4 separate regions of the Homo sapiens genome follow, and regions 1, 2 and 4 are each linked to region 3. The links are contacts of gene promoters, found by promoter capture Hi-C in blood cells and fetal thymus (Javierre and others, 2016). All regions are on one chromosome and are shown on one strand. Each heading gives the region's core, a stretch centred on a gene start or on the middle of the fragment in contact. The rest is flanking DNA. Distances are from core to core; before and after follow the strand shown.

The links. The method cuts DNA at HindIII sites, captures the fragments that hold promoters and counts their contacts. A CHiCAGO score of 5 or more calls a contact.
Region 1: a fragment that was not itself captured here is called in contact with the fragment with the promoter of SPX in region 3 in 1 of 17 cell types (naive CD4 T cells); the score reaches 5.0 in naive CD4 T cells.
Region 2: a fragment that was not itself captured here is called in contact with the fragment with the promoter of SPX in region 3 in 1 of 17 cell types (naive B cells); the score reaches 5.0 in naive B cells.
Region 4: a contact is called between a fragment that was not itself captured here and the fragment with the promoter of SPX in region 3, in 1 of 17 cell types (total B cells). The highest score is 6.1, in total B cells.

What each region holds. Positions count from the first base shown.
Region 1 is chr12:22,057,850-22,061,879 of GRCh38, forward strand. CMAS (cytidine monophosphate N-acetylneuraminic acid synthetase) reads left to right here. Exons shown (of 8, transcript NM_018686.6): 4 at 718-851; 5 at 2,983-3,077; 6 at 3,432-3,603. Among named protein-coding and RNA genes, the nearest start is that of CMAS, 14 kb to the left of the region's middle. The HindIII fragment of the contact is 1,555 bases long and covers 1,900-3,454 here.
Region 2 is chr12:22,475,008-22,479,476 of GRCh38, forward strand. It overlaps C2CD5 (C2 calcium dependent domain containing 5), which reads right to left. Exons shown (of 27, transcript NM_001286176.2): 15 at 3,306-3,470. Among named protein-coding and RNA genes, the nearest start is that of C2CD5, 67 kb to the right of the region's middle. The HindIII fragment of the contact is 714 bases long and covers 1,133-1,846 here.
Region 3 is chr12:21,524,354-21,528,261 of GRCh38, forward strand. SPX (spexin hormone) reads left to right here and starts at 1,943. Exons shown (of 6, transcript NM_030572.4): 1 at 1,943-2,125; 2 at 2,533-2,613; 3 at 2,782-2,839; 4 at 3,374-3,436. The coding sequence starts at 2,120. The HindIII fragment of the contact is 15,623 bases long and covers 1-3,908 here.
Region 4 is chr12:22,490,623-22,494,625 of GRCh38, forward strand. It overlaps C2CD5 (C2 calcium dependent domain containing 5), which reads right to left. Exons shown (of 27, transcript NM_001286176.2): 11 at 2,601-2,715. Among named protein-coding and RNA genes, the nearest start is that of C2CD5, 52 kb to the right of the region's middle. The HindIII fragment of the contact is 1,174 bases long and covers 1,360-2,533 here.

The DNA.
Region 1 (4,030 bases), core at 1,427-3,926, 530 kb after region 3:
GTCTCACTCTGTTGCCCAGGCTGGATGGAGTACAGTGGCGCAATCTCGGCTCACTGCAATCTCCCCCCCCCGGGTTCAAGCGATTCTCCTGCCTCAGCCTCCCAAGTAGCTGGGATTACAGGTACCCACCACCATGCCCGGCTAAATTTGTGTTTTTAGTGGAGATGGCGTTTCACTATGTTGGCTGGGCTGCTCTCGAACTCCTGACCTCAAGTGATCCGCCCGCCTTGGCCTCCACAGTGCTGGGATTACAGGCGTGAATCACCACATTCAGCCTAAAAAAAGTTCTTTATCAGGCCGGGTGCAGTGCCTCATGCCTGTAATTCCAGCACTTTGGGAGGCCGAGGTGGGCGGATCACGAGGTCAGGAGTTCGAGACCAGCCCGGACAACATGGTGAAACCCCATCTCCACTAAAAATACAAAAATTAGCCAGGTGTGGTGGTGCATGCCTGTAGTCCCAGCTACTTGGGAGGCTGAGGCAGGAGAATCGCTTGAACCCAGGAGGCGGAGGTTGCAGTGAGCCAAGATCGCACCATTGCACTCCAGCCTGGGTGACAGAGCGAGACTCTGTCTCAAAAAAAAAAAAAGAAAAGTTCTTTATCTAGATAAAGAAATGCTCTGCATTCTGAGTTCATTTTTATTAACTTTTTTAGTTACTAAATTAACACTTTCTATATTCAGGGCAACGTGGACTTACTCTAACTTTTTGCTTTTAGTTCGTGAAGTGACCGAACCTCTGAATTTAAATCCAGCTAAACGGCCTCGTCGACAAGACTGGGATGGAGAATTATATGAAAATGGCTCATTTTATTTTGCTAAAAGACATTTGATAGAGATGGGTTACTTGCAGGTTTGTACCTTCATTTTGCATAACCCTTTTAAGCGCTTTTGTAGGCATACTTTGAGTTCTAGGGAAGAAGTATGGTACAATTTCTTTATGATAAAGAAAAGTATCAACCTATAGAGGAAAGGTAATAGCCAACAACATTTGCTATCTGAGGCATTTATCCTGCAGGTTTACCCCAAAGTGATCTTTGGAATCCATTCAGTAAATATGCAAGGAATTCTGCTACAACGATAAAAAAATGAATCAAGTACTGGGTGTCTACACATGTCCTGGTACTCATATTATTCCACTCAAAACTACGTAATCCATGTTTGTGTTATAGTTATATTGTGGCTGTAGGGTTGAATAACTTCTATTGCTTTAAAAAGACAAATAATTTCATAGAGGTGAAAAGAGTTACAACCTGGGTGTCAGGAAACCCGGAATCTTTTTATATATATATATATATATATTTTTTTTTTTTTTTATTATACTTTAAGTCAACTGCCTCTTACTATGTAAGCTTGAATATGTATCATTTTATCTGTCCTGACTCTCATTTTCAAATAACAGATTTAATGTCTCTCTCATTTTAGAGCCTGCAACATGGTTGCATCATATATTTCTTAACTTGTTAATTTTAGTTATCATTATTATTTATTATTTACTGTGTACTTCGGAGTAGGTGAAACACTTTGCATATGTTATCTTATGTAATCTGCATAGCGAATGAATGAAGTGGACATTTCTACCCAGTTTTACAGAGGAGGAAAACTGCCTCACTGAAATATGAAGTAATTGACTCAAGGCAAAAACAGCTAATAAATGGTACTGTCAGGATTTGGATTCAGGTTCTTATGTTACTCAAGAAATAGCGGTTTTAAAGAGAGAGAGAGAAACCTCTCCATTGTGTAATAAAAATTCTAATGGGACTATTATTCTGAGCAAAAGAGAGAAAAACATTTTTACAAATCTTCTGGTCAATGTGTAGGCAAACTATAGACTAGCTGTTTAGTTAAATTTAAGTGTTCAGAAAAATTGGATTTGACACACATAGATACTACCATTTTTAAGCTTTTTTCTAAGGAGGACCATGATTAACCCATTCCTAAAGTGTGGAGAAAAATGTTTCTCATTAAAACAAGGTTTATGAAGAGACTGACAATTCTGAAAAAAAAAATGAAATTGAAATTGTCCAGTAATTGATCTTGTCATTCAAATAATTACTATCAGAAGAAAGACCCTTTCTCTTGCTGACCCTTGCCTAGAATCAAGAGACTGCCCTTGCCTTTGCCTGCATGTGACTTGGATGACTATTAGTCATTTTCATCAGTAGCTCAGAGATCTAAGAAAACTCTGTACAACAGATGCTACAGTTATTTTTCCTCCCCTGTGTTGCCTGTTAGTTGCAAATTAGAACAGAAGTTCCAAAAACCTTAATACTGCTTTTGGATGATGACAGGAGAGACTTCTTGAAAAAAAGGAGGATATGATTAAGGGATTTCCACAAAATCCCTTGTGGTCAGAAACCTGGAGGATGTAATATTTCTGCTTTTTTCAATATTAAAATAGAAATTTTCTTAAATAGGGAACTTGAACTGTTTAGATAGAATTTGAAAAATGTTAAGGTTATTTCTTTTGTGTGAGCTTTCTCCTTAAAAAAAAAAAAAAAAAAAAAAAAAAAGCTGGGCGTGGTGGCTGAAGCATGTCATCCCAGCACTTTGAGAGGCCAGCTTGAGGCCTCAAGAGGATAGCTTGAGGCCAGGTTTCCAAGACCAGCCTTGGCAACATAGCAAGATCTTATATCTACAAAAAACTTTTTAAAAATTTAGCCGGACATGGTGCTGTATACCTGTAGTACCAGATCCTTAGGAGGCTGAGGTGGGAGGATTGCTTGAGCCTAAGATTTCAAGGTTATAATGAGCTATGATTGCACCATTGCACTCCAGCCTGGGAGGCAGAGTGAAACCCTGACTCGAAAAAATAAAAAAGTAAAAATAAATTTAAAAATCATTTTTATGTGACTGATTTTTACTGGGTTATTCATTTTTCTCAGTACTGTAGAAATGAATTCATTGTTCTGTATTATAATAAAGTTTTGATATATGTGAATGAATATTAAAAACAGTATTCATGACATTTATACTACCTTTAGGGTGGAAAAATGGCATACTACGAAATGCGAGCTGAACATAGTGTGGATATAGATGTGGATATTGATTGGCCTATTGCAGAGCAAAGAGTATTAAGGTAAAAACAAATAAACCTTTATAACCTTTGTACTAAATCTTAATAATTATATTTCTAGATACTGATTTCTGATACTTCAGACATCTTAGGATCTTTGTAATTACTTTGTTCATGTGAGGAAGACATGTAAAATATGTGTTTACATGGCTTCAATAAAGTGAGAAACATTATCTGGCTAGACCACACTACTTTTACTTACTGTACTATATGTTAAAATATATATGTGAAGTAAATTTGGAGAGTAATGTTTGAATAATTGAATGGAGGGTGACATTTCATGTATTGGTTTAGCCAGATGAGAGGGAGTGATTAGTACTGCACTTGTACTCAAAGGTCTATTTTGGTTTCTTTTAGATATGGCTATTTTGGCAAAGAGAAGCTTAAGGAAATAAAACTTTTGGTTTGCAATATTGATGGATGTCTCACCAATGGCCACATTTATGTATCAGGAGACCAAAAAGAAATAATATCTTATGATGTAAAAGATGCTATTGGGATAAGTTTATTAAAGAAAAGTGGTATTGAGGTATGTGCTCCCTGAATATAGCAGTATTTTATAATATTTTGATTCAGGGTCAAAGAACATGCAAGGAATTAAGAGATTTAAATTTTTAGTATTAACTCTTAAAATATCTGAAATTTGGCCTTCATACGCCTAGAAAATTATTATACTATTTAGTTTTAGATGAGTAGAATTAGGAATTTGTTAATCAGCAAATAATATTTCTTGTTTATTCAGTAAATATAAACATAACTACTTTTAAATGGGAGCTATCTAATGTTTCCCAAAGGATCTTGCAGCAAGAAAGATTCCCTAGATAATAGGTGTACCATTTTAGAAAAGGACGATATCCTGTGGATTTTTAAAATCTAGCTTATTCTTATGAATGACATTTTTGATTCAAAATAACTTAACGTTTAAGTGTATTTTTTTAAATGAAAGCTAGCTAAGA
Region 2 (4,469 bases), core at 240-2,739, 950 kb after region 3:
TGAAGTCCGTACTTAAGTATAACCTTTAAAACTAAACTTTTATAGCAGATATGGCAGCCTTAATGATACACGAATCAGAAAAATATATATAACTGTCACAGACATAACAAGATAAAACTGACATCTAGTGTACACACAGGACACTACAATGTGTATGGAATTGGCAGTCCTTACAGCTCTGAAATCCAGTACTGCTGTGTGTGCATATTTTCTATTCAGCATTATAAAAGTCCTAATAGGCCTTAAAAATTTAAAGACTTATGTTCCTAGAAAGAATTCTAATCTTTTATATATTTTCTTATCCACTTTCAAAGCTCCATATAGCAAAATGTGAAATATGATCAATGTATGAGTATGAATACATATATACTTATACTATGCACATATTTGCTATTCAATTTATTAAGCTAAATAAACATTGGTACTTACAATAATGATCTTTTTAAGGTCAGTGTATGGTGCAATACTGTATGGCTTAGTGAGCTTTTTGCTGTTACATAGCCAAAGATCACTAGGGGTTCTAAGTGTCTGTCGGCCACAAGGAATGCTGGAAGAATATGAATACGTGAACGCAAAAGCAAAAGCCATAGCCTATTGCTGATGCAACAGAATTGTCTTTTTAATAAACAAGGAAATTGTACATAAAATTTTTCAAAAATATATAGTTTTAAATGTTCATTGGTAGTATGCACCTTAGATAAAAGACTACCACTGCACAATTTCATAATGTAATGATCTATGGAGCACTTTCACATCAATTTATCTTATTTGTACTCCAAATTAATCTGCCCTCTATAAAGTTAACATTATAATAACTACAAAATGGAAAAGAGCTGTAATTCAGAAGTAAATTAGTAGTCTGCCTAAATTTGGAAAACTAGCAAGTGTAGAGCCAGTCTAGGTCAGTCTTTTGACACACAGTGCAACGTTATTCCCACTAGATACCACACTACTTTTTATAATTTTACAATAGTTTTAAATTCTGTTATGCCTTTGTTCACAATGCCACAGACTTAACAAATATAACTGTCTGGTATTTAATATGTTCTAGATTCATACTGAAATTTCATCACTAGTACTGTTATTCTGAGAGATGTGCATCTTATTTTGATACCTTTGATTATCTCCATAAAGCTTAAGTGGTACTACACCTTTGTATTAGAAACATTTTTTAATGTATTGACAAAAAATTTAAACAGCAGCATTTATTTCAGTGAGGGCTATCATCCTAAGAGAAGGAACACTCTGATCTACATATTCAGGGTGGACATAACACAACACTGTAATGTGTATAGTGGCCTGGTAATCAACCTTGTACACTGACTCTGTCAAAAAAAATGCTGAGAGATTATGCTAAAAGACTATAATGTAGTCAGTATCTACAATAAGGAAAGACATATTAGAAGATGCATAAACTGATGAGTACTGTTGTGAAAATACAGTCATCCTCAACACATGAAATTCATATATGTTAAAATTTTTAAAATCATAATAGATTTACTCCCTCCTTCCAAATGTAAACTGTATGACACATAGTAGCAGCTCAATAAGTACTGAATGGATGAAGTAACTTAATTCATAGTCTTATTTAAACACATCCCTGTCTCCAAAGGGCTTACATTATAGTAAAGGAAGACAGATATATAAAAACTAAGTACAATAATATGTAACAGTTTCTATACAAGTACATACAGGTACAACAAGTACACAATGGAGGAAGAGTCCATTCTTCCTGTTAGAGGTCAGGATGGATTTACAGAGGTGAGAAACACTATTAAGTAAGTAAAAAAGTTCAGCTCATATCATTAGAAATAATAAATGAAGAATATATGAAACCCTAACACAAAGCTTTACAAATCATTTTTCCCAAGTGGCATACTATAAACAGATGTTCAAATATCAAAATATAACTACCAAATAAAAATAATGTACTATAAAAATAAGCAGTCAGTAGAGTGGTGCACAGAGAACTTTTACAAAGTCTATTTTTCAAATATGAATATGTTAACACATCAACATTTGCATTCATTTTAAAGAAGCCCTAAGTCAGTATTGTTCAATAGAAATATAAAGCAAGCCACATACATAATAAAGTAAAAAGAAACAGATAAAATCCATTTTAATAAAACATTTTATTTCATTCAGTATATCCAAAATATTAAATTTTTGACACAAAATCAATACAAAAATATTCATATTTTACACTACTTTTTCACAGTAAATCTTTAAAATCCAGTGTATATTTTATACTTACTACACATTTCAATTCAGACTAGTCACAAGTCCTCAAAAGTCACATGTGGCCAGCGGCTACCACAGTGAATAATGAATAGTGCAGCTGTAGGTCATAACCTTAAAATTCCTCCCAAATTAACAACTATGCTAGAATAATATGATGAAAGCTATACATGTGACGCAACAATCCAGACACACTGTTCCAGAAGACCAGCCAAAATTAGATAAGACGTTTAAAATAATAAAAGCAATAATGTTATACTTTCTTTTTTTATTTTTTTAATTATACTTTAAGTTTTAGGGTACATGTGCACAATGTGCAGGTTTGTTACATATGTATACGTGTGAATGTTATACTTTCCTTTTGTGAAAGTCTTTCATTATCAGAGACTCATAAAAACAAATAGTTTCATTCTAATTCCAACCCATTTTTCTTTCAATTCAGACTCTTGCCATCAGTCATCCACAGAGGAGGCAGCATTGTGATACTTATTGCAAAGTTGGTAAAAAGACTGATTAAAGGAAATGACTGGGAGCAAATTTGTAAAAAAAGAAACTGTAACTGAAAAACTATATTCTTTCACATTTTTACCACCAATAAGAATCTCTTTTTACTAACAAAGAACATTTTAAACCATTTATTTCATCATTCAACAAATACTAAGAGACTACCACCAATAGGAACTTTTCTAGGCAATAGAAACAAAGCCCTCATGAAGCTTCATTCTACCAGTACTAACAGGCAAAAGACCAACAAAACACACACACTCACACACACACACACACTCACACACACACACACTCACAAAGATAAGAGCTATAGAAAACAATAAAAGAGGGAAAAGTCATAGGAAGTGGCAAAAATGAAGTCACAATTTTTAAATAGGATCGTTAGAGTAGGCTTACCCGAAAAGGAGACAGTTGAGCAAAGACATAAAGGGAGGTGAAAGAATGAGTAATAAGGAGAGCTAAACAGTGAAAAAAAAATCTTGTGTCCTCAATAAGATAACCTAAAAATATACTAATAAACAATAACTGATACATTCACAATGTAGGTTTGTTTTACTTACTGGAGGATTGATTTCATATAACTCTTTGTTTTTAGCAATTGTGTCATTTATCTTCTTCTGCATATGAGAGATGTGTTGTTCATATGAGCCATCATTAGGAGTCTTCCCAGCAATCTGAATACCACCAGGAGTTGGTAAAGCTGCTAAATACACACCTGTGGCAGACTTGTAAAAAATAATGGGGAAATAATCAGAAAAAATATCTACAGAATAACAGTCCTTAAGTTTTCATATTTAAGAATGTGGTCAACAGCTGGGTGCAGTGGCTCACACCTGTAATCCCAGTACTTTGGGAGGCCAAGGCGGGCAGATCACTTGAGGTCAGGAGTTTGAGACCAGCCTGGCCAACAAGGTGAAACCCCGTCTCTCCTAAAAATACAAAAATTAGCCAGGTGTAGTGGTGTGTGCCCATAATCCCTGCTACTCAGGAGGGTGAGGCAGGACAATCACTTGAACCCGGGAGGCAGAGGTTGCAGTGAGTCAGGATCATGCCTCTGCACTCCAGCCTGGGCAACAGAGCAAGACTCTGTCTCAAAAAAAAGAAAAAAAGGGAAAAAAAAACAAGAATGTGATCTTTGCTCATTAGGAAGAATATAATCAGCATCAGGGTATACATAGGACATCTCTGGAAAGGCACACAAAAACAACTGGTAATAAGCGTTGGTTTCTTTTGGGGAGGACCCTGGGTAGGTGGGAGACAGTTACGAAATGCGGATTTACTTTTCACTGCATACCCAATTATATTTTTTATGTTTCTACCTCACAATTTTTTTTTTTTTGAGACGAAGTCCCACGCTTTCACCCAGGCTGGAGTGTAGTGGCGTGATCTCGGCTCACTGCAACCTCCAACTCCTGGGTTCAAGCGATTCTTCTGCCTCAGCCTCCTGAGTAGCTAGGATTACAGGTGCCCACCACCACACTCAGCTAATTTTTGTATTTTTAGTAGAGATGGGTTTTCATCATGTTGGCCAGGCTGGTCTCCAACTCCTGACCTCAATTGATCCGCCTGCCTTGGCCTCCTAAAGTGCTGGGATTACGGGCCTGAGTCACTGGGCCCGGACCTACCTCATAATTTAAAAAAATATATAATTAGAATTAAAAATAGCAAAAAAAAAATTAAAGGTTGCTAAAAAATAAATTTTTCATGAATGAGCAGATGCTCTA
Region 3 (3,908 bases), core at 693-3,192:
TATCATATCATATTCACTATTCAACCAACTCCAATCTTGCTTCTATCCTCAAAACCATCATATTCCAAATCCAGTGGATGTTTCTTGGAGCTAATGTTGCTTGACCTCCCAATACTACTGGATCTTCACTTGGCTTCCATGATATCAGGGTCCCCTGGAATTTCTCCTTTCTTTCTGACTCTACCTCAACCTCCTTTTCTGGCTCTTCCTCTGCTCATTCTCTATGCGTTTGTTTTCATAGCTCTGTCCCTGCCACTCTTCTTTAGCCCTATTCACTCCCTAAGTGTTGTGTTTAATCTCATCCCTTTACTGGTTGTAAAATTCTTAGAATTCTTAAAATTCTTAAAGCTAATCATTTCTGCCCCCCACCAAAAAGAAAATCTGTAGGCTGGTGACCTCTTGGCTGACCTCTATCAAGTTTTGCATTTCTAACCTTCTATTTTGTACTTGTACTTGGATATTTTTAATATACATTTTAATTTTAATATGCCTATATGGCAAGTGTTAATTTCCCTCTCATAACTTGCTTCTTAAGAAGTTTCTCTAATTTCAGTAAATTACTTCATAATTTACCCACAGTTTTATCCATAAACCTAAGAATCATCCTTGATTTATTTTTCTCACACTTTCATATCCCTTTTATATACAAGTTCTATATTTTCTACCTCCACAACATGTATTCCAAATTCATTTACAGCTCTTCTTTCCCTGTGTGTACCATCCCAGTGTAAGCCATCATCATCTATTGCTTATAATCGTATTTCCACATCAACTGGCCCATTTCTTCTTCTCCAATCTCATTTCAAAGCACCTCCCCCGTTCACCCACACAACGCTGCCTCCATTGGCCTCTTTCCTAGTCCCCAAGCAAGTCATGCTCTTTGCTGTCCACAGATTTTGCTTTTCTTTCTTCTATTGAGAATGCCTGGAATACTAATTCCTGCCCAGCTTCTCCCATTACTTCACCTTATCCTTCAAGACTACCCTCTGTTTTTAACCTTCCCTAAAGTAGCCCACCACTTATCCTATCACATCACCTTGCTTACTTTTACTTAACAATTTAAAACATTCTGTAGTTACAGTAGTCCCTGCTTATCCACGGTTTCACTTTCCATGGTTTCAGTTACCCATGGTCAACTACAGTCTGAAAATATTAAATGGGAAATTCCAGAATTAATAAGTTTAAATTGTGAGCTTTAAATCTGAGTAGGGTGTTGAAATCTCTCACTGTCCAGCTCCAGCCCACCCAAGACATGAACCATCTTTTTGTCCAGCATGTCCATATGTAAACACCACTCTCCCATTAATCAGTTAGTAACCATCTTGGTGAACAGATAAAAAAAAATAGTATAATAAGGCATATACGTATCAGTGGTTTCAGGCATCCACTGTGGGTCTTGAAACATGCTCCTCCACCCCACACACACCTACGATTAAGGGGTAACTACTGTGTCTTATTTATCTATTCATCAGTTTACTGTGTACCTTAACTAGTAGGTAACTTAGATCAAAGCAGAGACCATGTCTTTTCAGTGCATGGCTGTGTCCCTTGAAATACAAGGATTGTGTGTCTCATAGGCACTCAATAAATATTTGCTAAACAACAGAATGAATTGATAATTAAGTGAATGACTGATGTCAAATTCCATTGAGATTCCCAAACCTTTTCATACATCTTTAGCCATCAGTGATAGACTGATGGCTAGTTACCCAAGAAAAGTTTTCTGATTTATTCTTTTACTTTTGATTCTGCCTTGGACTATTGATTGTTTTCATTAATAATAATAATAACATGTTACTTTGGGCAGCTAGTAGGAAAAGCAAGGCCAATGATGCTGACACATTCTGAAGGCCTCCTGGGTGATGCAATCAGTATTTAAACAAATAATTTCTGCCCATCAATCATTCCTCTACTTCCTGCAATGAAGCTCCCTGGAGGAGTCATCAGATTCTCAATCTTGCTTGAAGACTGACAAGATGTCCCTGTGGACTCCCAAACTCTACTCCAGATGGGGAGGTGCCCTTAACACCAAGATTTTAAAAGCTCCAATTTCAGAGCAAGAGTCGAAAACTCACAGATAAAGTTATAGTTATTTCAGGGTTCTGAAAAGACGCAGAACATGAAGGTAAGTAAAGGCTTTATTAACTTGAGACTTCTTAGCTATTTTTTAAAACGTTTTATAGCATTTTACCTATTTCATGTTTAATAAGGATTTTAGAGTTTAAAGGATATTTGAACGATACGCCTTTAGAATAACAGAATCATTTGATTTTACTAAGAAAAAAATTCACGTATTTACTTATTCTTCATTTGGGTGAAGTAATACAAATAATATGTTTCTAAATACGTTTTTTCAAGTGGACTCTTTGTGAATTAACTAGAAGGTAGAAGGGAAACACCTCCAGAAAACTGAGTATTAAAACAGAATATTGCGAGAAGTAAGGGGGTTTATAATTGTCCAGGCGTCAAGGAAGGAAGCAGAAGATCCTATTGGCACAGAAATGACCCTTTCTGGTTGATCGCTTCATATAGGGACTCAGAAGTCTGGCAGCAACAACCTTGGCTCTTTTCCTGGTGTTTGTTTTCCTGGGAAACTCCAGCTGCGCTCCGCAGGTAATCAAATGCAAAATAAAAAATTTTAAAACAATGCGCACTGTGTGTCCACTCTGCTCTTTCTTTCTTCCTTCTTGTTTTATTCTCTTCTTTTTCCTTTATTTTGCTGTAATAGAGGACTGAGCTGCAATGTTTTATTAACTGCTCTTCCCTTCCCCCGGGCTATAGAGACTGTTGGAGAGAAGGAACTGGACTCCTCAAGCTATGCTCTACCTGAAAGGGGCACGTAAGTTCCAAATATTTCGCTCTTCCTACAATAATGGAAGACCCCTAGGAGTCAGGAACAGATAGATGGAGAGTTATGGAGAGAGAATAATGTCGAGTTTATTCCCTTAAATCATCGAGGCCATCAAAGAGACCGGTAGGTGAGGGAGGGGTGGGAGAGGGGAAGAGTCCCTGATTATTGGAAATCCTCCATCCTTATTAGAAATTCTCCATCCAAAACTGGAGGGTTGCTTCTCTTGGTCCAAATGGGGACTCGGGTTGCCTGGGAAATATCTCAGTAACCCGACCTCCGCTCCAAAGCGCCCTTGCGGCGTCCGGTCAGGCGCGGGGCTTTCCTCCAGAGCTCCAGGGCCCCTGGCTCAGCCCGGGGTTGCGCTGGGAGCGCTGGAAACTCGGCAGCCCCGCGCGACCCTATCCTGGAGCAACCTGCCCCCTCCCCACGCCCGGGGACTGCGCTGTGCCGGGAGGAGCTGAGGTTTAAGCCCGGGTTGTCCCGGGCCAGGCTGTCGCTGAGCCCCAGGTCTCGTTTTTGCAGAGGGTCGCCGCTTCATCTCCGACCAGAGCCGGAGAAAGGACCTCTCCGACCGGCCACTGCCGGGTGAGTGACCAAGGGTGCAAGGGCGCTAGTCCTGCGCTTTTGGAATAGGATGGGGCGGGCAGGGCTTGCTCCGCGCTGGTGCCGAAAGAAAGCGTCTCCTCACCGGAAAGACGCGGCTCTGAGGCGCCCTCAGATACAGTCCGCCCGAGGGCAGCCCGGGTTGGCAGCAGCAGCAGCTGGATGCCGAGCGCCGGAGCTGGGAGCTCGCGCGTCCAGCCCCGCGCCAATGGTGGCAAGGGCGGCCCAGGCTGGCGCTGCGGCTCCCCAAGCCTTATTGGCTTGCGGCTGTTCAGCCAGCCCTCTGGCTGCCAGGGTGTGCAGAGGTCCCCAGGGAGTTAGGACCTGAGGTGCAGCTCAGAGGGGTAAGGCGAGATAGGAAGAACTATGCAAATGCTTCTAGAAATGTATCTGCGCGTTTGTGCAGGAACTTTACTCAGCCTCCTCTTAAACGCTGTTATTATTAAAATAAGAA
Region 4 (4,003 bases), core at 697-3,196, 970 kb after region 3:
AGCACAACTATGTAAATATCTCTATATAGGTGATTTATATAGCTTAATCTAAATTTAAATCATTATAAAGGTTTCTGAAACAATATACAAAATATACTAAATGAAGCTTAAACTACATCATCATATAACAGAAAACTGATATTCAAAATAATTTTTAAATTATTATATGTCACCCAATTTGAAAGCTAAAAAATTAAACAATCAACATAATTATTGAATGAGATCACCTAAACAAATGAGAAAAGTAGCAACCTAGGGATGAACTGCTGAAAACCAGGTATAAATAAAACCCAGAAATAAAATAAAACAGAAGCCTAAGAGAACAAGGGAGGAACAGTCACTTGAACTGTAAATAAAATAAAGGAAGACCAGGCTTAAAGTGTAGGTAGGAATTAAGGATGTCAGAAGGAATAACATGAAACCACTGATGTCTTCGAATCAAGAAGTTATAAGAGCAGAAGTGCATTTCAGAGAGTTTAATCCAGTAACAGAAAGTAGCATGGGCTGGAACAGAAAAGATTAGTTAAAATTTAAATACACAGATGTTTTTGAGGTCTAGAAAGGACCTCTGTCAGATGACATCTGTCAGATGAACTCAAACTTCTAGGTAAATTAACTGAACTCATTTGCAGACTCCTCCATCTGTGACCTATCATCAGCCATCCTGAGTCTACATCCTGTGGCCTTCTTTTTTTTGCTACTCTTTTAAGTGTTGAATGCATCTTGTAAGCTTTGAAACCTCTCCTTATGCCTCTTCTTTTTATTTATATAATTCATATTCATCCCCCAAAATCCAACTCAAGCATCAGTTACTTCATTGACATTTTCTTCCAATTCTACTTTGAGCTTTCAGCCCTCTAGGATCCCAAAGCATCCTATATCTCAATCTTAAAATTTATTTTACATCATAATTATCCAGTAGAATGTAAATGTGATACCAAGAACTATGCCTTCTAAAACCATATCTCTGGCCGGGTGTGGTGGCTTACGCCTGTAATCCCAGCACTTTGGGAGGCCGAGGTGGACAGATCACGAGGTCAGGAGTTCGAGATCAGCCTGACCAACATGGCGAAACCCCATCTCTACTAAAAATATGAAAATTAGCCAGACAGGAAGGCAGGCACCTGTAATCCCAGCTACTAAGGAGGCTAAGGTGGGAGAATCACTTGAACCCGGGAGGTGGAGGTTGCAGTGAGCCAAAATCACACCATTGCACTCCAGCCTGAGTGAAAGAGTGAAACTCTATCTCAAAAAACAAAAAAAAAAACGACAACAACAAAAAACATTTTTCTAAGGCCTCAAAGTTTATGACATTAAAACCATCAATGTGGCAAGACAACTAGGGAGTAAGGCAAGATAAGCTTGACAAAGTTAGTAGTTAACAAGAGTAGAACCGCTACTATGGGAATAAACAGTCTAGGAGTATAACACATGATCTGCAAAGGAAAAGAAAAGCCCACAGAAGATTAAATAATATGGCTCTGTAATGACCACATTTACTACAGTTTAATTCTTTTTCCCTAACAATAAGGATCACCACAAGAGCAGAGGATCTAACAGTAAGAATTACCTAAGAATAGATGGTAGAAAAATAAGATAACAGAAGGTTAAACAGTTTCTAGATGATATCAACTGTAAACTTCTGAAGGGCTGAAAGTAGGGTTCAAGGATGGCAAAAGAACAAAAAAAGCCAGAAACTAAGTAAGGAGCTGAGAAAACAACTGGTTAAGGTAAGGGTCAAAACAAACTAGATATAAAAGAGCAAATGATATTGGTAGAAAAACGTTAAGTTGTGATCTGAGAGTAAAATTTTATAGTTTCAAAATTTTAAGGCGGAACAGTTTCAAGTGATACTGAGGTCCAAAATATGGTTGAAAGTTAAGTGGGGTCAGACGACTTGAGAATAAGAAACTATAATGCCAGCTGCTAGGATGAACATAATCATATGTAACTGGAGGAGAGAGCAGCGAAGTAACTAAGAAAGGCAGACGAATGCTTTGGAAGTAGATAATGGAACAGTAGCGTGGCATGTACTTTAAAGGAGGAGATTGTTCAAATGAAGGGAAGGAGAAAAAGGAATTGAGAACCAAGTGTATGAAAGCCCCTTCCTAATTTGTCAGTATTAGGAAGAATGATTTGTTAGCAAGAAACGTTACATTACAGTAGGTAAAAGGAGGCAGAATGAGTTTATGGACAAACTTTAAAGACACATTGCAATTCGTTTACAGTAGATCAAGGGTTCCAAAGGTTCCAGTGGAAGAAGTTGATACAGTTACATACTAAAGGAAGCCTAGAGTTAATATTTGCTGTGTGCCAGTATTATATTCTCATTTAATCACTGATGTAAATGATTAATTGATCTGTGGTATTATCTCCATTTTAATGTACAAATTGAGGCTCAGAAGAGTTAAATAACTTTCTCAAAGTTACACAGTCACTAACTGGCAAAGACGGCATATAAACCTTAATCTAATGTACTCCAAGGCCCATGCTCCTGAACACTTCGCTATTCTCTTTTCTTTTATTTGCATGAAGCTTTTCCCCTTTCAGATGGCAGTCTAAATTAGTGTCTGGAAAATCAAGTTGTTATTATCATTTACCAGATGCTAGTTGATTCACTGTAGCCCACTACAGCATGACAGCCTAATGCTTTAGCATGTGATTTTATTTCTTGTCTGATTTCTGCCCACCATGCATCTCGAGTTTCTGGTTCATCTGAAAAATAAATTTTAAATCAGTTTATTACTCAATAGCACATTATATATATGAACATGAAATGTTTAAAATAAACATACTATGGGAAGTAAAGAAGTTTTATTCTATAATGGATTTTTAAACTTCCCATCTTTAAAATGCTACTTCTCAAAAGGCATAAGATTTAACCTTTTAAACTCAATTGCTGGAAAACAAACCACCTATCTGTATTTGCTTTATTACTTTAACAGATATCTATAGGAATATATGATTAGATATAATTTTAAATGTAGACCCAGAGTTTCCAAATTCTAATCTTAGCTATGATTAGAATTTTAGAATTAGACTAAGAGGATATTCTACATCTCACCTCACTGAGTGAACACCTTATGTGTTATATCCATAAATTTAACTTTAATTCTGATTTCATTTCTTGGTACCTATTTTTATAACTCACTATATTGTGGGTTCTTTCCAAGGCAAAGATTTGTCAATGTTAAAAGAGAGAAAGCCATCTGTAAGCCATCCTTCTACAGAGATGTGGGTCTTTAGGCAAAATACAAGAAATTAGAGACTAATTTAAAAAAAAAAAGAAAGAAAGCAAGCACACTTAAAATATTAACACAAATAATTTGGTAATGTATATAAGGAAAAATTTCAGATATAACACTCCATGTATTGGTCTGTAATTTTAAAAAATGATTTAGAGTCACAGAATTCTATTTTATTACCAGAGAAGTCCAATATTGCTTGTAATGGAGCACTATAAATGAAGCATCTGTCATACATATTTCCTAATCACTTGCATTTAGCTGCAAACTACTGGTGACAGCAGCTGCAAATTATAGTAACATTTTATGTACAATGTGTTAAAAACAGAAAGTCTATAATTAGCATATCATAATTTATTTCTTTTTGTGGCCAATTCTCATTTGGGAATAACTTGAGATAGAAAAAAAAATCAACTCTAGATAGAATGCTAAGCTCTCATTGTAATTTTTCCATATAAAAGCCACTATTAAATCTAAAAACCAAAAAATCCAAAGTTTCTATTTTTGAATTGCAGTATATATCCAATTTTCAAAATATGTTTTTCAAAATTAGTAGAATAAGTAGAATTATACTCACTAGTAAAATAGTGAAGACAGCAAAGTAAAGAAAGGTTAAGAGGCGTGTTATAGCTCACATTCCTATGATGAAATTTTTGTCTCCTCCACAGGGAGGAGGATCAGCAAAAGGGAGAAATAAGGAGATAAAAGCCAGAACTACAAATGATGCCAGCCAGTTCTTGAATTAAAGTTTTGGTTCC